4 separate regions of the Homo sapiens genome follow, and all the other regions are linked to region 1. Evidence: promoter capture Hi-C in 16 types of primary human blood cells and fetal thymus (Javierre and others, 2016). All regions are on one chromosome and are shown on one strand. The core of a region is centred on a gene start or on the middle of the fragment in contact, and the rest is flanking DNA. Distances in the headings are between cores, read along the strand shown.

Region 1 (6,496 bases), core at 1,524-4,023:
AAAGCCCACCAGGTAGAGGTTTTGCCTCAGCTGAAAGTTCCGGTCCCGCACCTTCAGCTGTCTGCCACCAGGGTCCAAGGATAGTGCCCGGTGCAGCATGGGGCCCGGCAGCACTGCACCTACAGCACTCTCAAACAGCTGCCTGGCCTGCTCTGCCAAGGCCATGCTGCTGGCCAGACGGGCCACTGAGCCCCGCCAGAGGAGTGGATGCAAGGGGGCTCGGGCCAAGCGGGGCAGGACCTGCAGGGCTGCAGCCATGCCCCACTGCTCTCAGCACTGCCTGGCACCCATGGCTGCCTAGAGGGAAAAAGCACAACTGAGGCCCTTGCAAGGCAAAAGACAGGAGGTCCCCCACGGCCGCCCCTCTGAGGGCTCAGGGCCAGTGGACCCCACAGCTGCTGCTACAAGAAGGAGCCATCTGATAGCCCCAGGAGACTTCCTGAAGCCTGCAGCTGCAGGATCTTACTCGTCCTTGGAGACCAGCCCTGCCACCCAGCCACGTCCTCCTCTTCTGCAGACCACATGCCGGCCCTCTGGATACTCTGCCTCAAGTCCAAAGTTCCTATTAGCTGGGCCCTCCTCCCAGGTCACCCCTTTGGCTGGGAGTTAATCATTGACAGAGGGAGTAATTTCTACCAGTGGGCTCCCATCCCACCCCTTTTCCACCCCCTGCACTTCTGCGCTGTTACCCTGGGGCAACGCCCCTTTCTGGCACTCCTTCCTTGCCTCTTTACCACCTCTGCTGCCAGGAAGCTGTTGATTGTCCCACCAACTGACCCTGAGCCCATTGACCTCCAGTCTTCTCTATTTCATTATCTCATGAGACTGGGATTAGGAGCCTGGGAAGTCAGGGTCTATAGGAGGCTGCAGGTTTATCAGGTCAAACCCAGAACACATCCTCAGGGCAAGCAATCTGAGGAATCTCAGTATGCAGGACCAGTTCAGCAAGAGGTTTAGGTTCAAATCAGGAGTGAGGGCAAAGTCTGGCTCATGGTGGAACCTTAGAAAAGTCCCCAGGCACCATGTGAGGCCATGTGCCATGAAGCCCAATTGCAGGACAGAAAAGGATGCCCTTCTACCCACACAGTTGGCCAGACCCAACCCTGCCAAGAACACGCCTTCTGGTTCCAAGATAACAAAAACAAGTCCTAGGTCACACCACCCACAGTGGTGAGAGCCCAAGGGCTGAAGTAGGCAAAGGCCAGGCTCCCATAACTGAGCCCATAGCCATTTTCCCCACTGGGCAGAGTAAAAGCTAAAGAAGCCTTGGGGCGAAGGTCAGGAAGCTGTAGAGGGGTATAGGAACAACAAAGACCCAAACAGCTCATCTGTACTACATATGTACTATTGCATCTACTTTAATAAATGCCTACCATAAATGTTGCAAGCTGACTTCATCAGCAAGTATGGACTGAGCAGGGTAAGGAGGCTGGGAATTGAGGTTCCAGCTCTACTATAGGCTTTCTGAGTGGCTGGGACACCTCCATTTCTCTCACTGGGCCTCATCCGCAAAATGAGACATGGGGTGAGATTAACACTACGCTCTTCCCTTAACAACCTCAGGCTCTCTGATACTGTCCACTGCAACACAGATCTCAAACACCGGTTTACCCCACACCCAAATATGGTGGTTACTTCTAGACTTTGACCATTTTGCTTGCCTAGTTCTCAGCTCTCCGGTAAGAAAAGACAGCCATGCCTGACTTCTGTTGTGAAAGGGAACACAGAGGGCATCGTCATGGGGATTCCGAAAATGGGTCCAGTTTTGGCCAGGGGGACCCCTGGAGCTTGCCCATTGGACTTGGAGCTAAAAGCATCTTAGCAACTAAGACAGCCGGTCTTTATAGCCTGGATGAAATTTGTATCTATTTCCCAGATGGACAAGAGCCTAGAAGATCCCAGCCTTGCCACTGGGTATGAGCACAGGACAGGGGGACGCTCAATGCTAAGGCTGCCAGAGAAAATACAGGACTTCCGGTTAAATTTGAATTTCAAATAAACAAGTAATTTTTAAAGTATAAGTATGTGCATACAATGTTTAGGACTTAACAATTATTCGTCGTTTATCTTAACTCAAATTTAACTGGACGTGGCCCGGCGCAGTGGCTCACGCCTGTAATCCCAGCACTTTGGAAGGCTGAGGCGGGCGCATCACCTGAGGTCAGGAGTTCGAGACCAGCCTGACCAACGTGGTGAAACCCCGTCTCTTCTAAAAATACAAAAATTAGCCGGGTGTGGTGGGCGCCCGTAATCCCAGCTACTCGGGAGACTGAGGCATGAGAATCATTTGAACAGGGGAGGCGGAGGTTGCAGTGAGCCGAGATCGCGCCACTGCACTCCAGCCTGGGTGACAGAGTGAGATTCTAACTCAAAAAAAATGTAACTGGACGCTTTGCATTTTTATTTGCTAAGTCCTCCAATTCTATCCAAGACACGGTCTCTCCGAAACTCCGGGAGGCTCCAGAGCAAAACAACGGAAATAGGAAGACTACCGGTCTTGACTCCTCCCCGCCATCAAAGAAGGCTGGTACCATTTCCGGCTTTCCCTAGACAGTAGGGGGCCGGAAGTGACGTCATCCTAAGGTAGGGCCTTAGCGAGGGAAATGGCTGCCGCGTAATGCCCGGTGATGCGAGAAAGAAGGGCCTGCTGCCACCAGGACCCGTCATCGCCCAGCCCAGGGACCGCTTCTGAAGGCCATGCGAGCCCTGGCGGCGCAGACTTACCAGCCCACAGCTCCGGCCGCGGTGCCCAGCGCTGGAGAACGGAAGTACTAGGGGGTGGGCGGAGCGGAAGCCGGAAGTGTGGGTGGGTGGAGCGGCGCAGGCGGGTGCGAGCTCTGGCTGAAGCCGGTGTCCGGGAGGGGAGAGTTTAGCATATTGGCTCTTTGCTGGCCACTGACAGACCTGGAAGGAGTCACCTTCAGTCCTCATTTTTTAAATCTCTACATTGAGGGTAATAATCCCCGCCTCACCGATTGCCGATTTTTTTTTTGAGACGGGGTCTCATTCTGTCGCCCAGACTGGAGTGCAGAGTCGCGGTTTCGGCCCAATGCAACCTCCGCCTCCCGGATTCAAGCGATTCTCATGCCTCAGCCTCCCGAGTAGCTGGGATTACAGGCATGTGCCACCACTCCGGGCTAATTTTTGTATTTTTTAGTAGAGACGGGCTTTCGCCATGTTGCCCAGGCTGGTCTCGAACGCCTAACCTCAAGCGATCCACCCACCTCAGCCTCCGAAAGTGATGGGATTACAGACTTCAGCCGCCGCACCCGGCCTCTCCCTTCCTTTATCCTGTACGGTCAGTCAGCAGATGCACCCTGAGTGTCAGGCACTGACTGGGCTGAGCAAACGAACTGAGAATCACTACTTCCCCACAACTCACCCCTTCTGGAGCCAGATTAAGTAATTCCCGCTCCTCTCCATGGCTTTTATTCCACAACTTATTATTGTTCTTCCCTCTCCCACCATGGGCCACCAAATACAGCTCTGGCTTAGCAAGAGTTCCATTCTGCGATCCTCAAGCACATAAGCGGCATGTAAACGCTAATGACTCTGGGCCTACCTCGCTGTCCCTACTCTCATCCGGGGCCTACCCTGTGTTGGCTGGATGCCTTCCCACATTCATAAGATGAGTCCTGATCAGACTCCAAAAATACAAAACAGTTCACTGTTTTTACTGATGTTTTCTTAGGGAGATAGAGGAGAGAGTTGCATCACAAATCACACACTTGATTTCCTAACAATTTTATTGAAACATGTTTCTTGGCAGGGCGCAGTGTTTCACGCCTGTAATCCCAACATTGGGGAGGCCAAGGTGGGCGGATCGCTTGAGCCTAGGAATGCGAGACCAGCCTGGGAACATGGCGAAACTTATCTCTACCAAAAAAAAAAGAGCCAGGTGTGGTGGCATGCTCCTGTAGTCCCAGCTACTCAGGAGGCTGAGATGGGAGGATCACCTGAGCCTGGGAGGTAGAGGCTGCAGTGAACCTTGATCACGCCACTGCACTCCAACCTGGGCCCCTGTCTCAAAAAAAAACCAACAAACAAAAACACATTTCTTTCTCTTGGTTTTGAGGTGGAGTCTTGCTCTGTCACCCAGGCTGGACTGCAATGGCACAGTCTCAGCTCACGGCCACTGCACTGCAGCCTGGGCACGATGTCGGCTCACTGCAACCTCCGCCTCCCAGGTTCAAGCAATTCTCCTGCCTCAGCCTCCCGAATAGCTGGGACTACAGGCGCCCGCCACCACGTCCAGCTAATTTTTGTATTTTTAGTAGAGACAGAGTTTCACCATGTTGGCCAGGCTGGTCTCGAACTCCTGACCTTGTGATCCACCGCCCTTGGCCTCCCAAAGTGCAGGGATTACAGGCGTATAAACAATTACAGGCGCCCGGCCTATATAAACAACCTTCATCTTTCCCCATGCTGGAGAACACTAATTGCCACTGCTTGGTGTCTGTGTTTCCCTGGATGGCTGCCCTCACACTTTATGCTTGAATAAATTCTTTTAACTGGATATCGAACCTTTTGATGATTTTTAGGTTGACATTAGAAATGTGTTTTTGGGACAGGTGCAGTGGCTCATGCCTGCAATCCCAGTACTTTGGGAGGCTGAGGCAGGTGGGATCATTTGAGGTCAGGAGTTCGAGACTGGCCTAACCAATATGGTGAAACCCCATCTCTACTAAAAAATACAAAAATTAGCTGGGCATGGGCCGGGCACAGTGGCTCACACCTGTAATCCTAGCACTTTGGGAGGCTGAGGCAGGTGGATCACCTGAGGTCAGGAGTTCAAGACCAGCCTGGCCAACATGGCGAAACCCCGTCTCTACTAAAAATACAAAAATTAGCTAGGCATGGTGGTGTGTGCCTGTAATCCCAGCTACTGGTGGGGCTGAGGCAGGAGGATTGCTTGAACCTGGGAGGTTGCAGTGAACCGAGATTGCGTGACTGCCCTCCAGCCTGGGTGACAAAGCGAGACTCCGTCTCAAAAAAAAAAAAAAAAAAGATTGTTTATATAGGCAAAAACAGGAGTGCTGACCAGAATTACAACATTTTCCAAAAAAAGGCTAACATAAATACAAGATTTGGTTGGCTACTATTGATTATACTGGAAGGAGTTTGCTTAACATTCTATTGTAAAGAGACAACAATCACAAGGGTCTCTATCTCCCACATCATCTAGTCTAAGTCTGAATGAAGAATAGGGAGCCTGGTTAATGTATAACATTTCAATACAAAGATCAGGAAGCAGCAGTCATGCATCAGAGAAGAAAAAAAAAAAGCAATGCCTGCTCAGTTTCCAGGGCTTCACTTTTCTCCTTCACATTATAAATTGGGAATGTCCTAAAATTTTATTTTCTTTTCACACCCCCTACCTGCTCCCTTTGGCAGTTGCTACATCTCTCCTTAGGTCTCCAAACCATGCTGTGCTCTTGTCATGAACCTTTCCCTTCCTCTGGCCCCCACTTCCAGCTCTCTCCCTGGATTTTTCTTTTTCTTATATATACATATATTTTTATTTGAGACAGGATCTCACTCTGTCACCCAGGTTGGAGTTCAGTGCCATCATCTTGGATTATTGCAACCTCCACCTCCGAGGCTCAAGTGATCCTCCCACTTCAGTCTCCCAAGTAGCTGGGACCACAGACGTGCACCACCACACCCAGCTAATTTTTTGTATTTTTTGTAGAGAAGTGGTTTTGCCATGTTGGCCAGGCTGGTCTCAAACTTCTGCGCTCAAACCATCTTCCTGCCTCTGTCTCCCAAAGTGCTGGGATTACAGGTGTGAGCCACCACACCCGTCCTTCTCCCTGGATTTTTCCTTTTAAAATATGAGACTTTGTATTCCTTCTCCTAAATGATTTCCCACCACATCATCAAAACAAAGGCATCCGTAGGTGGAATTGCCCTCTTTAATGTGGGAGAGGTTGTAAATACTGAAAATTTTATTGTTTTTTCTTGGTTATAGTCAGCTATATTCCTTCCATGCATTTATTCCTTCCTCAGACATAATTCAAGACATTTCCTGAGTGCCTTCTGTGTGGGCCGAATGCTGTAGCTGCTGGGATAGGTAAGAAGTGGTACTTTTAATTTTAATTTTTTTTTGTTTTTAGGAGACAAAGTCTCACACTGTCGCCCAGGCTGGAGGACAGTGGTGATTACAGCTCACTATAGCCTCAACCTCCTGGGTTGTAGCGATCCTCCTGCCTCAGCCTCTCAAGTAGCTGGGACTACAGGTGCACACCACCATGCCTGGCTAATTTTTTGTGGAGACAGGGTCTTGCTTTGTTGCCCAAGCTGGTCTCAAACTCCTGGGCTCAAGCAGTTCTCCTGCCCCAGCCTCTGAAAGTGCTGGGACTATAGGTGTAAGCCACTGTGCCCAGCCTGGGCTTGCAGGGTTACTCCGTGGGAGGGAAGGTCAGCTGTGTTGGAGGCAGGGTAAAGTGGAGCTGTGTCCTATGTAAGGGCTGTACAACACCTTAAAACTGGGAGG
Region 2 (6,496 bases), core at 1,451-3,950, 240 kb after region 1:
CTTAGCCACTACTTCTGTCTGTCTGTCTGTCTCTCTCTCTTCCTCTCCCTCTCTCTCTTTCTCTCTCTCCCTCTCTCTCTCTTTCTTTCTCTCTCCCCCCCTCCCTCTCTCTTCCTTTCCTCTCTCTTGTTGTAACTGGGAGTGGAGGCCCAGTGGCTGGGGAGACATTAGGTGGTGGGGCCCAGCCCGACCTCCAGGTTCTTCCTTCTCCCTAGCTGTTGCTTTGGTCTGGCCACTCCCAGCCCCCTTGTCCCCTTGGAAGCTTGCCCTGCCCTCATCTTGCCCATGCCTTCTACTGCCAGGAGACTTGCACCCATTTCAACCCTAGGGCGGGGGCAAGTGGGGCAAGGATGGACCAGCAGAAGGGGGGTAAGGCTCTGTTCACTTCCCCCTGCCTCCACAGAACGAAGCCACGGATTCCGTTATCTTCCTCCAGTTTTGTTCCTTCTCCAGCCTCAGTTCCACCAGGTGTCAGGACTGCATGGGGGCCTGGGGCAGGCAGAGGAGTCAGGCCAGGGTCCCTGACGGAGCAGCACTCAGCATGTGAGTGAGGCCACAGAAAAACTCTGCCCCACTGCTTCTTACCTCACGGGGGTGGCTTTCAGGGATTCTTTAGCGCAGCAGATTAAAATCTTGCCACAGTCGAGAAATTGACAACAAGCTTCCATGCTGTACATGGTTCTCTTTTTCTCTCTTTTATTTTTAAAAAGAAAACCCAGAAAGATGTACCAGATTTGTGTAAATGAGGGTATGCCAGAAGGTGGCCAGTTTTGCTTTATGATCTTATGAAGGAAGATTTGTGACCCTACGTATATATATACACACACATACATATATATATATATCCCGAACCAACAACGGGACTTTGTTTATATTGCAAATAAATATTATTTTTTCTTTAAAATGAGTCGTGTCCGATAAGGGCTTGGGGCCTGGGAAGGAGGGGAAGGAGTGCTGTCGACAGGCATCCTAGTGCCTGCTCTGTGTGAGGCACTGGCCTGGTTCTGCTTGGGGTCTGCTGGCCACTTAGACTAATCAAGGTGCCCCGCAGATGGGAGGGAGCAGCCACAGTTTCTGGATGAAGCTGGGGCAGGTGGCATTTCCCCAGCCCTTAGGCACTGGCAGGCAGAGGCATCAGGGCTTTCTCTGTGGGCTTCTGCTGAAATCAAGGCTTGGAGAGGTTGTATATACCAAGTTGACACAACTGAGTCCTGACTCGCCCTTCATTGTCTGAGGCTGTCTGCTTAGGCATTGCCCAGATTGCAGCCCCCAGGACCCTAACTCTTTCTCTTGCTGCCGTGTGGGTGAGAGGGGAATGTGCATTTAACCCTGCCCCTGCAGGTCCTGAGATATCAGTGGGTAGTGACAGGTCAGCCCTTCTTTGCTTCTTAAGGGCTGGGTGGCCTTGGACAGGTCCCTTAGGCCGATTGCACCTGGTTCCTGAGTGCTTTTCAGCTTTGTGGCATGAAGAGCACATTATTGGCCTGGGCTCACAGGGAGGAATCAGCCGTGCTCAGGCGTGTACAAGGAAGGGTGGGCATGGGCCTCTGTCAAGGCTCCCCTGGGGGTGGGGGTCTAAGCGAGGCCCTGGGCTAGAGCAGGGAGGAGGTCTGGAGAAGGATGGGGGCCACAGTCTGGGGAAGTGAGGCCCCAGTGGACAACAAGCCCCGAGTTACAGATCAGGAAATGGAGGCTCCAGAGTGGCTTAGGTCTCCCTTGCCTCTGGCTGGATCAGGTGAGCCCCAGTCAAGGACTTAAGAGGCCTGGAAGCTGACTCAGTTTCCCCATTTCTGACATTCCCCAGCTCTATCCCTTCAGCAAACTGTGTGATCAGCACTGAGCTGGATCCAGGTGGAAGGTAGGTAGGTAGGGCCGAGAGGGTGAGGGCGGCTCAGCCTGGGACTTGCTCTGTTGGGGTGCCCAAGGCTCTCCTTCTCTTCTCTCCCTCATCTCTGCTCTTCAGTTAGTCTGCACCAGAACGCAGTCACAACCATCATGCGCAGCCTGTGGAGAGGGGTAGAGGGCAGGTTCTGCCCACTGTGGGGCCTGGGTGCAAATCTCAGCTGTGTGACTGCAGTCCCTCAGTTCTACCCCCTAACACTCCCATGTGGAGCGTGGAAGAATCCTGCCGCTCAGCCGGCAGGCCTCTGTGGGTAGGAGGGGGCTTCTTGCTGCATCCTCGACAAGGGGGCGGTGCTGCTGTTGCTCCTGGGCTCCCTCAGGGCCCTGTTCCTTCTGTGCCAGGGGCAGGCAAAGGGGGTGGGGGCCTGAGCAGGCAGAGACTGGGCCTTTGTTCCCTCCTGCTGCCCTCGCCCAGGCCTGGGGAAGCCCGCGGGTGCTGGGCTGGGGGCTGGGCCCTCGACAAACCGAGTAAGTGCCTGGCAGTGCCAGCGTGCCCAAGCACAGGACGGGGTGGGGGTGGGAGTGGCAGCCGCCTCCTGAGCCGGCTCTTCAGACGGAGGACTGGGACTGCCTGAAGAGGGCCAGCCCCGCCACTTACCCCTGTGCACTCTGGGGCCAGTGGTCTCTCTGACCGTCTGTGTCCTCCTTACCTGTAGAAATTCCTACCTCAGCACTGGGCCTGGCTAAGGTTCCCTGCTGGGGGACAGAGGGCCAGGTCATGGCTGAGAGGCTGGGGCCCTGGGTCCTTGCTCTGTGACCTTGGGCCGGGCCACGCTTACTGGACTGTGGTCCCCCACCCCTGGGTTTTGGGCTCCCATCTCATGGCCCCGTGTCCTGAGCTCCTCCTATCCCACCCCGTTTCTGCCATGCTCTCCCCAGCGGGCCCTGCTTGCTTCAGGCCATCTGTGGCTGAGGCCCTCAGCGCAGCCGTCCTGAGCTCTTGGACACTTGGCTCTCTGGGGGTGCACCTGCTTTATCTCTGTCCCCAGTCCTGTTGCTCTCTTGAGCCTGTTTGCCTCCTTGGTCCCTGTTTCTGCCTCCGTTTCAGCCTGGACCCCGGGGAGCTGGTCCACTCCTTAGCCGCTTAGTGTTCCCATGGGAGGAGGATCCAAGACACTTACTCACTTGCACATTCATCCAGCAGCCATTTCCTGTGCCGGCTGGGCAGTCCCAGGGAGGGAACATGCCCGAGGGAAGCTCGGTGATGTCACACTGGGTGGCAGGATAATGGGGCCCTCAACTTGTCCTCTGATAAATGAATCAAGTGCAACATGAGGACTGACTAAGGCTGGATACGAGGAAGCACTTGGAGTGCTGTGGAGCGATGACCTTGAAGGGGTTCCGACAAGACCGCAGGAGAGATGAACATTTCCCTAGGGTGGTCCCGCTCTGAGCCTGGGGGCAGAGGGAGCCCTCAGGAGAGGGCCCTGCTCTGCCTGCCACCCCCACAGGGCCCCTCCCCAGAGGAAAGTCATTCCTCATGAATGGACCAGGGTGGGGGTAGGTGGCAAGCCTGCACTGGAGCCTGCCCCTCCCTGCTACTGCCCATGTGCTGTGCACCTGGGCCAACAGCATGACTGCACTGTACCTCCCTCTGTGTCAGAATGGATGTGTCTGGGACACCAACACCTACCCCCAGATCCTTGGCAGAAGCCAGAGGGCCTGATATGGGAGCCAGCTTTCTCTGTAGGGAGCACAGTAGCATGTTAACCTCTGGGTGCCCCGATGGAGGGTGTTCAGGTCCTGATCCTTGACATCTTTTCCCCTGCTTTCTTTGGGCCCCACCAGGACACAGTGCTCTCACCTGACTCCTGAGACCCAGCCTACCTGAGAGCCCTGGGAAGGCTCGGGAATCACTCTGCTTCCCAGCCCTGTGCTGATGGGGAAGGTGAGGTTTGCAGAGGGGTGTCATAGAGTGAGGCAAGGTAGAAGCTGGGCCCCCCACCCTGCTGCCCTGAGGCTTTTCACTAGGCCCTGGCTCTGTGAGGGACCAGACACACACACACACACACACACACACACACACACACACACACACACACACACACACACACACACACACACAGCTTTGCCATCCTCTGACTAGACAAGCCCATGCAGGTCTCATAGCAATGGAGGAGCCGCCTGCCTGTGACTGTAGCCTCCTCTCATCAGGGTGTGTCCTGGGTGAAGTCATCCCTTTCCAGGCATGGTCATTAAAGACTATCATTAGCAACTCTTAGAGGCCTTGGCCCCATTGTCTCTGGCTGGGTCAGATGAGCCCCCACAGGTGACCGTGACACAGACTCCGGCCCCTTGCTAGAACCTCTCTTTGCCCAGGCAGCCAGCCCCCTTCCCAGGGCTGTCCTATCGCACACTTCCAGGGGCCATTGTCTGCCGTGTAGCTTCCGTGCATGTGTGGGGTCTCCACACGCCTCCCTCCATGCCTTCAACTCCTCCTCTGGCCTCAGGGCTGCAGGCAGAGGAGAAGCTGCAGTGCCTTTCCACAGGGCGTCATGGGCCAGGGAGGAGCCTCTTTAGGGGACAGGGGAGCCCCTAGAGGGCATCAGGCACAGGGCTGATGGGGTCTGGCTGTCACAATGAAGATCTAGTTGGTGAGTGAGAGCGGCCTGAAAGGCAAGCGCGCAGGCCAGGGGACAGGGAGGAGGCCAGGACAGTAGTTGAGGGTGGGTCAGGAGTGCTGGAGAGGGTGTGGGAAGGACACATCTGCAGACCAGCAGGACTTGGGCCCCATGGGAATCAAGACCCATGGTGTGAACAGAGGGTCCCAGCTTGTCTGATGCCACATCCACAGCCTGAAAGCCAGCCGCTGTGCCTCGCAGAAGGATTAAGCTTAGCCCGGGCATGCGTGGGCCCACGGGACCCCGAGCCCCCACTCACCTCCCCTGAGGGAAGCTTGCCTCACCCTCATTGTGCCACCACATGCTAGGCGCCCAGGGAGAGCCAAGGGGCCCCAAGATCCTTAAGCGTCCTGGAAGTCCCCCAGGACAGCACAGCCCTGACGGCCCATCTCAGAGCCTCCGTTTCCTCATCTGTACAGTGGGGATAAGAATTGCCAATTCAAGAGGAGAGAGCAGGATGAAGGGCCTGTTGCCCACCTAGACCTCTGGAACAGGAGCCCAGGTGAGTTCATTTAGCTGTGGCATCCCCACCGCTGCTGAGGGGCACCTCTCCGGCCCAACTATTGTCAATTTGCTGTGTGATCTCGGACAAGCCTCCTCCCCCGTTCAGTTCTCCAATTCCCTGTTTCCACTGATGAGAGATAGAATAATGACCCTGAGGTATCTGGCCCTCAGATTCAGCACCACACCCCTTTGAGCCTGCCTCTGGTCCCCCAATTCGCATGCCCCAAACCTAGTTCTCTCCTCACCCCACAGAACCTAGCATGGGGGCTTGGGATGAGGCTCCCGGTGGAGGAACTACAGGAGCAAAGGCCCAGCTCACACTTCTCCCCAGACCACTGGCACCAGGCCCCTGCAGCCCTATTCCCTAGCCGCTGGGAGAGAGGCAGGCTGGATACCACTGTCCCTCCCCGGTTGCTGGGACTCAGGTGGTCTCACCAGCACCTCTGGGCAGGGAGTCTGGGTGTGGTTCTTCTGCATCTCAGATTCTTTCCCTGGGCCTCATGCCCAGAAGTGGCATTTCTGGGACAAACACCTCTGCTTCCATTTTTCCAGACTGGCTTCTGAAAGGAAAGCAGAGTTGTTTGTCTTTTACGTTCAGCTATTACTGTTGCTGATTTAGAGAAGCCACGTGTTGGCAGTGCCAGGAACACGGCAGGGGCCCAGGACAGCTCTGGGGGCTGAATCATTCCTCGGCGTGAGGTCCTGCCATGGCTGCCCCTCATGCCTGGCCCTGCCTGGGATCTGTTCCGATGTAGTCGGTCACCTGGCAGTTCAAATTGCAGTAAGAGCCATAATAATAACACACAGCCATGGCCCTTGTGCTGGGCCAGGTGTCCTGCAGGCTTTACATGATAAACTCACTTAATCTCCCCAGCAGCTCTCGGAGGGGGTGCTGGATTATCCCACATGGACAGATGAGGAAGCCAAGACAGAGAACTGCAAAGCCATGTGTCAGGAAGGGGCCCCACTGGGGTCTGGGCACAGGTCTGGCTGCCTTGAGAGTCCCTGCTCTCAACTACCCCAGGCCTGAGAGGTCAGGAGACCTTTGGGTTTTGACCCCCTCCCATCCCTGACACCAGCTGGGCTCCCACCCATGCCAGCCCGAGGAAAGCAGCATGTTGTGGGAAGGAGCCCGGAGCTCCCTTTCTGAAGGGACTGCGATGCACCTGTAGGTTACCTGGGTGGGGCAGGGGAAATGGAAGAGAAGGGCTGGCAACAGCTGGGGAGGCTTGGGAGGGAGTGTCCAGTCAGGGCTGTCCTCCTGGAGTGCACAGGCTGGAGGGGCAGAGAGTCAGGGACACCCAGTTCCAACAGGTAAGGTAGTCTGGGGGCATCTCCCAGAAGGGGACATCTTCTAGTGGAGATGAACCTCTTGCTGTTCCTGCTTCCAGCCTTTGTGCATGCTATTTCCTCCCCCTGGAATATTCTCCACCTGCCACCACCCCCTTCAATTGGCTCCCTCTTTTCTT
Region 3 (6,496 bases), core at 637-3,136, 180 kb before region 1:
CACAGAGCAAGACTCTAGCTCAAAACAAAAACAAAACAACACAAAAACACCAATGACATTTTTTATTTTTTGGGGAAAGAAGCCAAGTTCCTTAAAATGTCCTGTTAACAACACGAACTTTTTATGCAGATGTGAACTAAAGTGTCCCAGGGGCTGTCAAGTGCTGGGAGGCCCCCCATGAGTGTCTGCCTACCCCACAGAAGGTCCAGCCTCTGAATACTGATAGACATAGCAGTGTCCTCACCCATCCTTAGTGGTGGAGACCACAGCCCAGGACCCTGATCCACAGACATTGCCCCAGGCAGGATATAGGTGAAGCTTACCTTCATCGAGGTTGCTGAGAAGCGGACACTCAGCGTGGCTAAGGTGGGCTTCGATGCGACCAGCCCTCTGATGTGCTTAGCATCACAGTGACTTATCTGGAACAAAGAACAGCTGCATCTCAGAAACAGAATCCTTGCTCCGTCAGAAGTCCCCAGATGCAGGTGTTTCCTACCCCCATACAAAAGCACAATGACAGGCAACCCAAATCCTCAGAGATGGGAGGCCACTCAAGACCAAAGTGTCTCTTTTTCCCAGTGTCAGTGCCGACCAAACATTCCCTGAAGTATCTAGTAAGAAAGGTGCCTGGCCCCTCAGACTCACAATGGACCACAAATTCCATTTCCTCTGTAAGGGCTGCCTGGGGCTTGGCAGGTGAACATAAAGTGTGGGTCATGGAAACTGCTGGGGAGAACAAGGGGCCTCCACAGCACAGCGAGTGGGGTGGATCCTCCTGTTCACCCAGCCCCCACTCCATGGAACTGAGCTGTCTTGTGGTGAGGAGGGGCAGGCCACAGGTCAAAGCACACTCCCCAAGCCACCTGCCCAAGCACACCCAAGACCCAGATCCAGAGCCTCAGCCTGCTTGGCAGGGCTGGGTCGGGTTTCCCCTTCACTTCCCTGTCCTCAATCGGCAGCAGGGCACACCACAAGTTTCCCTAGACCACTGTAGACGGAACAGCCCAGTGCACAGCAGAGGCTCTGGAGGCAGTCTCAGCTGAATTCAAATCCCAGGTTTCCGCTCATTAACTGTGTGGCCCTGGCCAAACTTCCTTATCTGCCCAAGCCTCAGTTTCCCCAACTGTAAAATGGAAATAAAAGTGCCCTCTTCACGGGGCTGTTGGGAAGATTCAATCAAGGAGACATGGGGCCACAGGGCAGAACACAAAAGCCATGCTCAAAAAATTATGCTTTAAAACTTTTTTTGTATTCATTACTGACTTTTCTTTTCAAAAATGCTAAAATTGGCATCGCAAACCAAAGAGTCCAGTAGTGACAGATGCAGAGTGTTTCTTGTGTGGGTGCCCCAGAGGGCAGGGCATCTTCAAAGCTCTTTGCCAATCGGCCTTGGGAAATACAGACTTGTATTTAGTTCTGTCTGACCCCCAGGATGACTTCCCAGGACTTGAACTTGAGGTACACATGCCCCCTGCCCCTATGAGGAGTCCTAGAATGAGCCAGGTGCTGGTGCTCCACCCTGGCTAACCGCCCCTGCAGCTCACGCCAGGGAAGGTGTGTGCAGACCAGCCAGGGACAGGAGAGGCCTCTCTTTCTCCGCCTTCAGAGGGCCTGGTCACCTACGCAGAACCTGTCACATACTGCCAAACACGAAAGCACAGCACCTTATGATTAAATTAGGACACCCAACATCACAAACACTCTCTAGCCTCTGAGTTGGGAGCGAGAGGATGCTGTGCAGCGCTGGGCCTTACCTCCACCTGATGCAGGGACTTGAATATTGATAGGTCGAACGGCAGGAGCTGCTCCTGAATGTTGCTGGTCCCAAAAGGTCCTTCTGTGCCAGAAACCTGAAGCCAAAGATAAGGCTTAAATTGGGAACAGTGTCGCATGCCCATCGGGGAGTGCTGCAGCAGCTGACAAGTTGAAGACAACTTTGACCACTTCTGTCTTCAACAAAGCAGGCTCAGGCCAGGACTTAATTTAACGGGACACTGGGTCACGACCGCCCCCTGGTGCCCACAGCCAGAAGCATAGTGCCAAGAATAACCGGGCGGCCTTCCTTCCACCAACAGTCCCCCATGGTCTCCTTCACACAAACTGCCAGCCAGTCCCCCGCAGGTTGCACCCCCACCGACTGCGGGGCTCTCCATGACTGAGCTGCTGCAGCTTTACCTTAAGGTACTTAAGGCGACAGGTGAAGTCCAGGATGTGCCCGAGGTCGGTCTTGGCATCCCCACTGGCGCACGTGGGCTTTCCCTGCTGCAGCTGCTCCGTGACGGCATACAGCTGCAGGGGTCCAATGGCAAAGACCTCGCCGGCCCCCAGGAGCTGTTCTCCTGCAAGAGCCATGCCCTGAAGGATAAGTGTCCAGCCGCAGCCCCAGCCCTCGTGCAGCCAGGATTTCCACCTTTTCTGTCAACAAGCAGTTGGCAAGCACCCACTGTGTCAGGGCAAAGCCAGCGCCCTGGGCATGCAGGAGCTGCTGCCCTCCTGGGTGCCTGCTAGGCACAGGGCAACCCTAGACATGTGATGACAGAGGAGGGCAGGGCTGTGGGGCTGTGAGGCTGGGGAGCCACTGAGGGAGGAGTGAGGCCGAGTCGAGACCAAAGGCACTGGGCCAGAGTGAGGCTGCGGAGAGGGACAGCATTCTGGGTGACACACCTATGCTGCAACCTCCGAAATGCAAACACCCAGGTCAGGCGCAGGCCTATGGTGCCAGCGTGGTGCAGAGCCTGGAAGCAGGATGGGTTCTGAGCCCAACTGACTGCTGCTTGGTCCTCGCTCCACTCCTCCCAGCCATGTGCCCTCAGGCTGGTGACTGGGCCGCTGACCCCGTATCCTTCCCTATACCTGTGGCTCCTGGGGGAAGGCAGTAAGATGCAAACAGGAAGCATTCATCACACATGAGCTACTATAACTGTGCTCTCTGGCAGGGATGGGACCCAGGGTCAGCTTCTATCTGCCATCTGAGCCCTTTCAGGTAAGCACAAACCAGGTGCGAGGGAGCAGTGTGCTACCCACCTTCCAGCACCCACCACAGCGCTTTGGAACACAGCCCAAGTCTGGGCTGAGCCCCTGACATGGTACTCAAGAGTACTGAAGGACCACAGCTCCTCAGACCTGGCCACCTACAGGGGAGGTAGGTGGGCTCCAGAGTGACTTCTATGCCATCCTGTGCCTCTGGCCGCCTCATAAAACTACACAACTTATGCTCAGTATTTCAGGGACATGTGGCCACATACCTTTCTCAAAGAGCTCTTCAGCCAGTGCCGCGGTGATGCCATTTATCTCCTGCAGAGAACACAAAATTTGCCCTTAGAAAGTCCACCTGACCCCAGTCCCTGGGGTCACATTCCCCGCTATCTATCCCCTCTGTTGTGCCAGTGCCATCTCTCTAGGAAGTTAAACTAAAGAAAGGAGGGCATAAACCTACAATGAAGCAAGAAGCTTAGAAAGGGAAACTAAGTATTCTAGTTATGTGGATACCTGAAATGTCTCCTCCAAAGCAGAAGGGAAATCAGCCTAATGCTGCGACTCCAGTCCATAGGGCCAAGGGCACTGTAGCCCAGGAGGCCAGCAGAGCTGCATTACTCTAAGGGCTTTTGGGAAGCCAGCAGCTCCCAAAACTGGCTCTGGGTGTTCCTAGGAGAGGGTGTGGCAGAGAGAAAAGTCCTGTTTTTTCTGGAAGAGAGGCTCTTATCACCCTGGTGGGATGAAGGACCACCCAGAGCTAACCCTCCCTGGGAATGACCATTTCCACTTCCTCTCACGTTTCAAATGTGTCTCAGGAAAAGAGTGAACACTTGTTTTCTTCTTGTGTTCATCCCTTCCAGATTCACAACAGTAACACTCAGCCCCAGGGTCCCAAGAAAGAAGCGGGAAGGATTTCCTTTTTAAATGATGTGATGAAGGGCAGGACAAGGCCAAGCCCCCAGTCATACAAACAACACGCTTGGATCCTAATTCATACTGGGTCATGCCCTGAGCCACTGAAGGCTCCTGAATCCTCCCAACATCCTACAAGAGGAAAAGCGATAACTGCTTTTTTTTTTTTTTTTTTTAAATAGAGACAGGGTCTTGCTCTGTCACTCAGGCTGGAGTGCAATGGTATGACCATAGCTCACTGCAGCTTGGAACTCCTGGGCCCAAGTAATCCTCCTGCCTCAACCTCCCAAGTAGCTGGGACTATAGGTGTGCATCAGCACAACCTGCTTTTTTTTTTTTTTTTCTTTTTTGAGACGGAGTCTTGCTCTGTTGCCCAGGCTAGAGTGCAGTGGTGTAATCTCGGCTCACCGCCACCTCTGCCTCCCAGGTTCAAGAGATTCTCCTGCCTCAGCCTCCCAAGTAGTTGGTAGTACAGGCATGTGCCAAGATGCCCAGCTAATTCCTGCATTTTTAGTAGAGACAGGGTTTCACCATGTTGGCCAGGCTGATCTCAAACTCCTGTCCTCAAGTTATCCACCCTGCCTCAGCCACCCAAAGTGCCAGGATTACAGGCATGAGCCACTGCCCCTAGCCAACCAACTAATTTTTAAGAAAATATTTTGTAGAGACAGGGTCTCACTATGTTGCCCAGGGTGGTCTTGAACTTCTGGCCTCAAGAGATCCCCCCACCTCGGCCTCCCAAGTTGTTGGGATTGCAGGTGTGAACCACTGCACCCAGCAACGGAAGCTTCTATCTTGAGCTCCGTTTCACAAATGAACAACCTGAGGTGGACAAGCGCCGACACCCTCAATTTTACATGGCTAAAAACCAGCAAAGCCACACTCAAGCCCTTGGCCTTGGGCCTCTGCATATGAAACCCGTTGCCTCAGCAGTTCAGTGTAATAACTGTGGGGTTGGCAGTGCCCCCAAGGCCCTCAGCCCCCCACCCCCACATCCCACAGGTAGGAATTTTAACTCATCGACAGATGGCAGCCAACAGGCCTTTTCGTAAACAGCTCCAGATGGAGGCTGCATAATCCTCATAACTCACAGGAACATTGGGAACATCGCTTCCACCAGGACAAGCAATTCACGTGTTTATGGGATTCTAAAGACACAGGAGACAGGGTGTCCTTTTCCTGTTTTTCTCTTGGGTTGTTTGTCTCTTTCTTATCTTTTATACACTGTGGCCATTTTAATGGTGGTTTATATGTTGTAAACATTTCCTCCCAGTCTGCATATACCTTTTACCTTTGTTCATGGTGCTTTTTCTGACAGAGGTTTTTCATTTTTACATTGTTTAACCTCTAATTTTTTTTTATCCTTCATGACTTCTTGGGCCTCTTCTCTCACTCCACAATTATAAAAATATTCTCTTAATTTTCTTTTGGTTCTTTAAAAAATGTGTTTATTCATTTAATCTGCTTGAAATTCAGTTTATATACAGCACGAGAATAACTCCTCCCTGTATCCCGTGGACAAAAAGCAAAGGGAGCAAAATGAGCACACAGAGCCACAGCTTTAAGGGACCGGCAGGGTGCAGGGCCGAATGGAAAAGGGCAAGGAGAGGGGCACGGCAGGCACAGAGCAGGACAGGGCTCCGGCTGGAAGTGAGGGCAGAGGTGGTGGGTGTGCTCTGAAGTTCAACTTCAGTCTCTTGCAACCACATAAGCTAAATGACATTTTCCTTGGCAGCTGTGAAGAACTGAAGATTAGGAAGAGCCTCCACGGATGGTTTTGAAAACCACGCCCCGTCTACAGATCTGTACTTCGCAATCCTCCCTGCTGTCAGATCGCCTGGAGCCAAGCAGGTCCCAGGGGCTGCCAATCTCTGCCCACCTCAATTCCCCAAGAATAGCTCCAGGGCCTCTCAGGACACAAGGCTCTTACAGTTATCTCAGGAGAAAGGGTTCCCCACGATCAGTACTGAACAAACCTCATTTTCAACGGCACACTTCTTTTTTTTGAGACGGGGTCTCGCTCTGTCTCCCAGGCTGGAGTGCAGTGGCGTGATCCTGGCTCACTGCACCCTCCACCTCCTGGGTTCAAGTGATTCTCCTGCCTCAGCCTCCTGAGTAGCTAGGATCACAGGCCTGCACCACCACACCCGGCTAATTTTTGTATTTTTAGTAGAGATGGGTTTCACCATGTTAGCCAGGCTGGTCTTGAACTCTTGACCTCAAGTGATCCGCCTACCTTGGCCTCCCAAAGTGCTGGGATTACAGGCGTGAGCCACCACGCTCGGCCAATGGCACATTTCTTCAAGTAGCTGGTGTCAGCTCAGAAAGAACACAGAGAAAAAAAATCACCCTGGGCTAGGCATGTAGTCCCAGCTACTTGGGAGGCTGAGGCAGAAGGATCACTTGAGCCCCTAAGTTCAGAGTCGAGCCTGGGCAACACAGCAAGACCCTGTCTCTCTAAAAGAAAAATGAAATCACCTTCCTGGATGACAGCCCCTCTAAGGGGATAGGGCTGGAATTTCTGGAACACATGGAAAGTTGAGAGAAAGTAAGGGCCACCGGCTCCTGCTAAGCAAAGAGAAAGCTTTCACTTCTAAGGAATCTCAAA
Region 4 (6,496 bases), core at 1,693-4,192, 140 kb after region 1:
GGCTGAATAATATTCTGTTGTATGAATATGCTACATTTGGTTTATTCAGTCATGTGTTGATGGATCATTTGGGTTCAATCACTTGTTGGCTATTAAGGAAAATGCTGCTCTGAACATTTGTGTACAAGTTTTTGTGTAAACCATGTTTTCAACTCTTTGGGGTATTTACCTAGAATTGCTGGGTCATTTGCTAACCACGTTTAACTACTTTATTTTTTATTTTATTTATTTATATTTATTTTATTTATTTATTTTTTGATTAGGAGTCTCACTCTGTCGTCCAGGCTGGAGTGCACTGGTGCAATCTCGGCTCACTACAACCTCCTCCTCCTGGGTTCAAGCGATTCTCCTGCCTTAGCCTCCCAAATAGCTGGGACTATAGGCGCCCACCACCACGCCTAGCTAATTTTTGTATTTTTAGTAGAGAGGGGTTTTCACCATGTTGGCCAGGCTGATCTTGAACTCTTGACCTCAGGTAATCTGCCCGCCTTGGCCTCCTAAAGTGCTGGGATTACAGGCGTGAGCCACTGTGCCCGGCTAACTACTTTTTTTTAGTCAGGGTCTTGCTCTGTTGCCCAGGCTGGAGTGCAGTGATGTGATCACAGCTCACTGCAACCTTGAACTCCTGTGCTCAAGCAGTCCTCCCACCTCACCCTCCTGAGTAGCTGAGAATACAGGCATGAGCCACTACGTGTGGCTAATTCTTTAATTTTTTTGTAGGGTCAGGGTCTTGCTGTGTTGCCCAGGTTGGTCTTGAACCCCTGGCTTAAAGTGATCCTCCTGCCTCAGCCTCCCAAAATGTGGGGATTACAGGTGTGAGCCACTTCACCTGACCTATGTTTAACTTTTTGAGGAACTGCCAAATTACTTTCTATAGTATCTGTGTTTTTTGTTTGTTCGTTTGTTTGTTTGTTTTTAAAGATTTTTTTTTTTTTCTGGGTGTCTTGCATTTTCATGTGAATCTTGGGAGCAGCTTGTCAGTTTCTGCAAAAAAGACACCTGGGATTTTGATAGGAATTATGTGGAATCGGTAGATCAATCTGAGGAGTATCGTAGTATTGTATCTTAACAATAGTAAGTCTTCCTGTTCATGAATGTGGAATGTCTTTCCATTTTTTAAGTCTTCTTTCATTTCTCTTAGTGATGTTTTGTCGTCTTTACTGTACAAGTCCTGCACTTCTTTTGTTAAATTATTCCTTTTTTTTTTTTTTTTTTTGAGACGGAGTCTCGCTCTGTCACCCAGGCTGGAGTGCAGTGGCACAATCTCTGCTCACTGCAAGCTCCGCCTCCTGGGTTCACACCATTCTCCTGCGTCAGCCTCCTGAGTAACTGGGATTATAGGCGCCTGCCACCATGCCCGGCTAATTTAAAATATTGCTATTTTTTTTATGTATCATAAATAGTTTTATTTTTTGGATTATTCATTGCTAGTGTACAGAAAGACAATTGATTTTTGTGTCTTGATTTTGTATCTTGCAACTTTGCTGAACTCATTTGTTTTTTGTTTTTGTTGAAGCATTTCCACAGTTGATGTATTAATTCAAATAGTAAAAACTATTCCTAGTAAAAACTAATCCTAAGTGGATTCCTTAGGATTTTCTTTATATAAGATCATGCCTTGAGCATTTTTAACCCTACTCCCCCGGCTGTTGTAGGAAGAGTGCTGGCCCTGGGGAAGCCCCTTCCTCACCCAGGCTTCACACATTTGACCCTGGCTCTCTCTCAGGAGGACCCCTCGCTGGAAAGGCATTTTAAGGGCCACCGAGATGCAGTTACCTGTGTGGACTTCAGTATCAACACAAAGCAGCTGGGTAAGAAGAGGCACCCTGTCTAGGTGCTAGGTTATGAGCTGAACAGGCCAAGTTTTTACCTCGGAGGGGTGGTGGGTGGGAAGCAGAGCACAAGGACTGCACAGCTTTGTCTAGACCTGCTTCTAGTCTTGCTTCTGCTTGCCAGCTCTTTGGGCACTGGGCTTCATGAGCTTCATTTTACATGCAGAGCCTGAGGGTCAGAGAGGTTAGGGGCCTTGCTAAGGCCACAGAGCTTTTGAGGGTGGGACTGGGATCTGGGTCTTTTCTGCACACCCTAGCCACCTTTTGGGTCTGTCTTTTGGTGTGGGCCCTAAACAGTGACTCCTTTTCCTTGAAGCTTTACTGATTCTGTTGCCCACAGTAATAAGGCACACCTTGTTGAAGAGCCTTGTCAGTGAGAAGGCTGTTGAGCAGAGATGGGCACCCCCCTCGACCCCACTGCTCTTATGCTGCAGCTGACTGTCCCCCTTCCTTGGTTGCATGAGGTTTCGTACACAGCTTTTATGACTGCGCTTTCTGGTTCCTGCAGAGGAGGCTTGCCCCTTCATCCTGTCATCAAGACCCTCTGATGTGTAAAGGTTAAGAGGGAACTGAAGTGATTTTTGATCAGTTTTGGGGACCTCCTTTAGGCTTCATACTGAGTTGGGCCCTCTCAATGGGAGGGGCTGGCTTCCCAGCTGGGGAGGACTTGCTCTCTGGTGCCCTCAGGATGTGTCTGGGGGGAGACCCTGGGCCCCATGGGAATGAGTTTTCCCAGAGCTCTGGATTGCAGTCCAAGGCTAGCATGGGAAGGGCCTCGGTCTTATTCCCATGTGGGTGTGCTCCTTGGAGAACTCTGGGCCACAGGCTCTCCACCTCCAGACCATACCTCGAGATGTGCTCTGCTCCATGGGAGACTTCTCACGGTCTGTTTGTGGATGCCAGGGAAGATGGAGCTGGGCCAGTTGCTCCCCCTGCCTCTCCAATGTCTTGGTGGAGGCTTGAAGCCTGTTAGAGCTGTAGGTCATAGCATCACCCACTGTCCTCAGCCAGTGGCTCCATGGACTCATGCCTCATGGTCTGGCACATGAAGCCGCAGTCACGCGCCTACCGCTTCACTGGCCACAAGGATGCCGTCACCTGTGTGAACTTCTCTCCTTCGGGACACCTGCTTGCTTCCGGCTCCCGAGACAAGACTGTCCGCATCTGGGTACCCAATGTGTGAGTCGTACACTTTGAGGAGGCTTGTTGGAGTCTGGGGCCCTGGTGCCAGAGCCATCCCCACCCAGGTCCCCTAGCTTGGCTCTGGACTGGTCACAGTGGGACTTCTACTCTGCTTTGGAAGAGGTGCCATCAGAGGCTGGGGCTGCAGTTGGAGCCCTCCCCTCAGGGTTGGAAGAGGAGTTCTGGGCTTACCCAATCTATCCCTAAAGAAATGCCACCTGATGCTGTGTTCATGTGGGTGGGGCCTAGAGATGGTGCTCTGTTCATATAGGAGAGGCTCTGGCTTTCCCTTGTGGAGACTGGGGTACTCGGGCTTGACTGACTTTGGGAGGGGTGCTTGAGGAGTAGGAGAGCTTTGATGTGCTTGTGGGCTCTCATGTCACTGTTATGGGTTTCCTTACTCTTGGATGCCTGTCCTTGTAGCAAAGGTGAGTCCACTGTGTTTCGTGCACACACAGCCACAGTGAGGAGTGTCCACTTCTGCAGTGATGGCCAGTCCTTCGTGACAGCCTCTGACGACAAGACAGTCAAAGTGTGGGCAACTCATCGCCAGAAATTCCTGTTCTCCCTGAGCCAGCATATCAACTGGGTCCGCTGTGCCAAGTGAGCATTGTTCTGTCTGGAGACCCTTGGAGGAACCCTGGGGGTTGGGGGCTGGCCCAGGGGCTGCTAGGTACCAACTTATGACCTCGGGCAAGTTACTTAGGCATTGTTTAAGCTTCCTCAGCCTCGGTTTCCTTATCTGTAAAATGGAACAATAATAGCTCCTGCATTGTAAGTTGTCGAGAAGCTTCATGGAGCTGATGCATGACATGTAAGTTAGTCCATAGTCAGCCATGATGACCCTCTGACATCTGTGTTGGCAAAGCACAAACTGGGTCAACAGGGGCCATTTATTATCAAAAACAATTAGGTACTTTCAGTACTACCATTACACATTTTCTTTTTGTTCCTTAAGACAGTTCTGCAAGCTAGGTGCATTTCCATTTTGCAGATGAGGAAATGGGGGCTCAGAACAGTAGTATCTTGTCCCAGAGCACACGGTGGGTCTGTGGCAGAGCTGGAGTTTGAACCCAACTCTCTCTGACAGTAAGGCTTGCCTACTTTCCTCTGGGATGTTCTCAGGGGATGATTTTGCTCCAGAGCTCCCAGATGGGGGCGCAGGCTTCGGAGATGGGGGGCTTAGCCTGGAGGCTAGCCTTCCTGCTGGCCAGGGAGCCAGTGCTGTGCAGACAGCGGGCCAGGTAACCCAAAGGACCTTTCAAGGTCCAAGAATTGCAGACAGATAGTCCTACTTCTAGCTTATTTCATTCCTTTCAACAGAGCTTCCCCATGGGTCAAATATCTTTGCTTCAGAGGAAGGGGTTGGGGTGCCAGGTGACATTAGGAAACCACATGAGTCAGAAGTTGGGGACTATTGAGCTGTGTTCTTCTGGGGACCCCATACAAGTTACTGTTCTCCAGGGCACCCCCATTCCTTTGTCCTGGGAGACCCCTGATGGCTCTTAGAGGCTTTATGACTAGGGTCCTGAGATCAGGAGGGGCCAGGCCAGCAAACTGGGGTGTCAAGTCCATACTGGGCCTTTGGTGGCAGTCCCCAGGACCTCATGCCTTTTGTTGGCAGATTGTGTCTTGCTGACCCGCACTTGAGTCAAATGTAGACTCGGAGGACCTGGTCCCAGAGTAATGACACTGATGGTGAGCTTTTGGCCACCTTTATGCAAATGTTGCCGGCAGGCAGTCGGCTGCATGTTGCCATGTGCTGTGCGTCAGGGGCAGTGCTGGGGCTTTATGTGCATGAGGCTGCTCTGTGCTCACTCGTGAGGCAGGCACCTTTTTTTTTTTCTTTTCTTTTTGTTTATTTATGTTTGGTTTTCCTCTAAGTCAGGAAGAATTTCTCTTTTTCCCTTTTGGTCAGAGTTTGCTGTTGGGATGGGAGAGGGGCTATTTGCTCATGAAGCTACGTAAGAAAACGAAAACAAGAGCAACAGGAAAGATCAATAAGTTTCACAGATTCAGGAAGAAAAAAATAAAGGAAACATTTTTATAACATTTAAAATTAAGTCATAGGCCGAGCTTGAAGGTGCATGTCTGTAATCCTAGCACTTTGGGTGGATGAGGTGGGAGGATCCTTTGACTCCAGGAGTTAGAGGACCAGCCTGGGCAACATAGTGAGACTCCCATCTCTACAATAAAATAAAATAAAATAAAATTAGCTGGGTGTGGTGGTGCACGCCTGTAGTCCCAGCTGCTCAGGAGGCTTAGGTGGGAGGATCTCTTGAGCCCAGGAGGTAGAGGCTGCAGTGAGCTGAGATCACACCACTGCACTCCAGCCTGGGTGACAGAGCAATACCCTGTCTAAAAAACAAAACAAAAACAAAAACAAAATTTAGTCACAGTTTCCTGAAAAACTCTTCAGAAGGAAAAAAGAAAAATGATGTGCTAAAAGTTAACTATTTTCAGAAACAAAGTATAATTTAAGATATGACCAAATAAACAGAAGTAACATTGCCTCCTAGGATGCAATGCATTTGTTCCTGAAAAGACAAATTAGGGTATTCAAATTAAAAAAAAAAAAATCACAGCAGGGCATGTGACCCCGGGTGGTTCCTGCAGGCAGATAGTAGGCACTCGGGGAAGAGTGGCTGTGGAAGAAGGTGTGTGGTGCCCATGTCGTCTGTTAGTCTGTGATGTGACTTGTGCCCCACCCGGTTCAGGTTCTCCCCCGACGGGCGGCTCATCGTGTCTGCCAGTGATGACAAGACTGTTAAGCTGTGGGACAAGAGCAGCCGGGAATGTGTCCACTCGTATTGTGAGCATGGCGGGTGAGTCCCCAGATGCTGTCCTCCACCTGTAGGCGCTCAAGCACAGAGCACAGACCTGGGCATGAGGAGGCCCAGTGGCCTTCAGTGGCTGGAGCCGTGGGACCAGCAGCCTTATCACTGCTGCCCCTTGTCTGGTGCTTTTTGCGAGGTCTGGCAACCTAGCATTGTATCTTTTGCTGTGTGGATGGAAGCTTTGGCCCCATCCCACAAATAGCAGGAGTGCTTAACCTCAAGCCATGCAATTCTTTGGAGCTGTGTAATTATTTGTGCTCCTCTTTTTCTCCTTCACTTTCTGGTTGTCAGGATTACAACATGTCTGTCTGGCAGCAGTTGACACTCAGTCGCCCAAACTACATTTTAAAGCCTCTTGGTATGTTATCCATGATGATGGCTTTACAAAATTCTTGTTGGGTTCTTGTAGCAGATGGTGGCTGTTCATATTGTGCCACATCATCAGGAGAGAGAGGTGCCTACATTTGAGTAGAGACCCCAGCTTCTGCCCTTCTTTGTTGGGCTGGGAGCCACAAGGGCTTCTCCTTGAGAGGTGGACATGGTACCAGCCTGGGTATCACATATGGGTGTGGTGAGGGTCCTTGGCCTGTCTCCTAGAAAGGGGTGGGCCAATGGCCCTGTAGTCCTGCTGGACCTTCCCACCTG

Evidence for each region. The method cuts DNA at HindIII sites, captures the fragments that hold promoters and counts their contacts. A CHiCAGO score of 5 or more calls a contact.
Region 2: a contact is called between a fragment that was not itself captured here and the fragment with the promoter of GLYCTK in region 1, in 7 of 17 cell types (activated CD4 T cells, total CD4 T cells, non-activated CD4 T cells and 4 more). The highest score is 7.2, in activated CD4 T cells.
Region 3: a contact is called between a fragment that was not itself captured here and the fragment with the promoter of GLYCTK in region 1, in 2 of 17 cell types (M2 macrophages and erythroblasts). The highest score is 6.2, in M2 macrophages.
Region 4: a fragment that was not itself captured here is called in contact with the fragment with the promoter of GLYCTK in region 1 in 2 of 17 cell types (M2 macrophages and non-activated CD4 T cells); the score reaches 6.3 in M2 macrophages.

The regions. Positions count from the first base shown.
Region 1 is chr3:52,284,105-52,290,600 of GRCh38, reverse strand. It overlaps GLYCTK (glycerate kinase), which reads right to left and starts at 2,773. Exons shown (of 5, transcript NM_145262.4): 1 at 2,725-2,773; 2 at 1-297. The coding sequence starts at 258. GLYCTK-AS1 (GLYCTK antisense RNA 1) reads left to right here and starts at 868. Exons shown (of 1, transcript NR_046719.1): 1 at 868-2,021. It overlaps LOC107986086 (a long non-coding RNA gene), which reads left to right and starts at 2,581. Exons shown (of 3, transcript XR_001740699.2): 1 at 2,581-2,768; 2 at 6,010-6,073. RefSeq lists enhancers at 1-202, 3,006-3,115, 1,942-3,141, 2,447-3,188. The HindIII fragment of the contact is 11,873 bases long and covers 1-6,496 here.
Region 2 is chr3:52,043,327-52,049,822 of GRCh38, reverse strand. LOC124906238 (a long non-coding RNA gene) reads right to left here and starts at 3,594. Exons shown (of 2, transcript XR_007095908.1): 1 at 2,501-3,594; 2 at 865-2,004. DUSP7 (dual specificity phosphatase 7) reads left to right here. Exons shown (of 3, transcript NM_001947.4): 3 at 1-904. RefSeq lists an enhancer at 2,304-3,503. The HindIII fragment of the contact is 4,073 bases long and covers 664-4,736 here.
Region 3 is chr3:52,467,657-52,474,152 of GRCh38, reverse strand. NISCH (nischarin) reads right to left here. Exons shown (of 21, transcript NM_007184.4): 4 at 3,246-3,294; 5 at 2,176-2,339; 6 at 1,755-1,850; 7 at 324-419. Among named protein-coding and RNA genes, the nearest start is that of NISCH, 15 kb to the right of the region's middle. RefSeq lists an enhancer at 2,419-2,919. The HindIII fragment of the contact is 3,132 bases long and covers 321-3,452 here.
Region 4 is chr3:52,146,331-52,152,826 of GRCh38, reverse strand. It overlaps POC1A (POC1 centriolar protein A), which reads left to right. Exons shown (of 11, transcript NM_015426.5): 2 at 1,727-1,811; 3 at 2,840-3,011; 4 at 3,438-3,617; 5 at 5,732-5,839. Among named protein-coding and RNA genes, the nearest start is that of POC1A, 4.8 kb to the left of the region's middle. The HindIII fragment of the contact is 1,584 bases long and covers 2,151-3,734 here.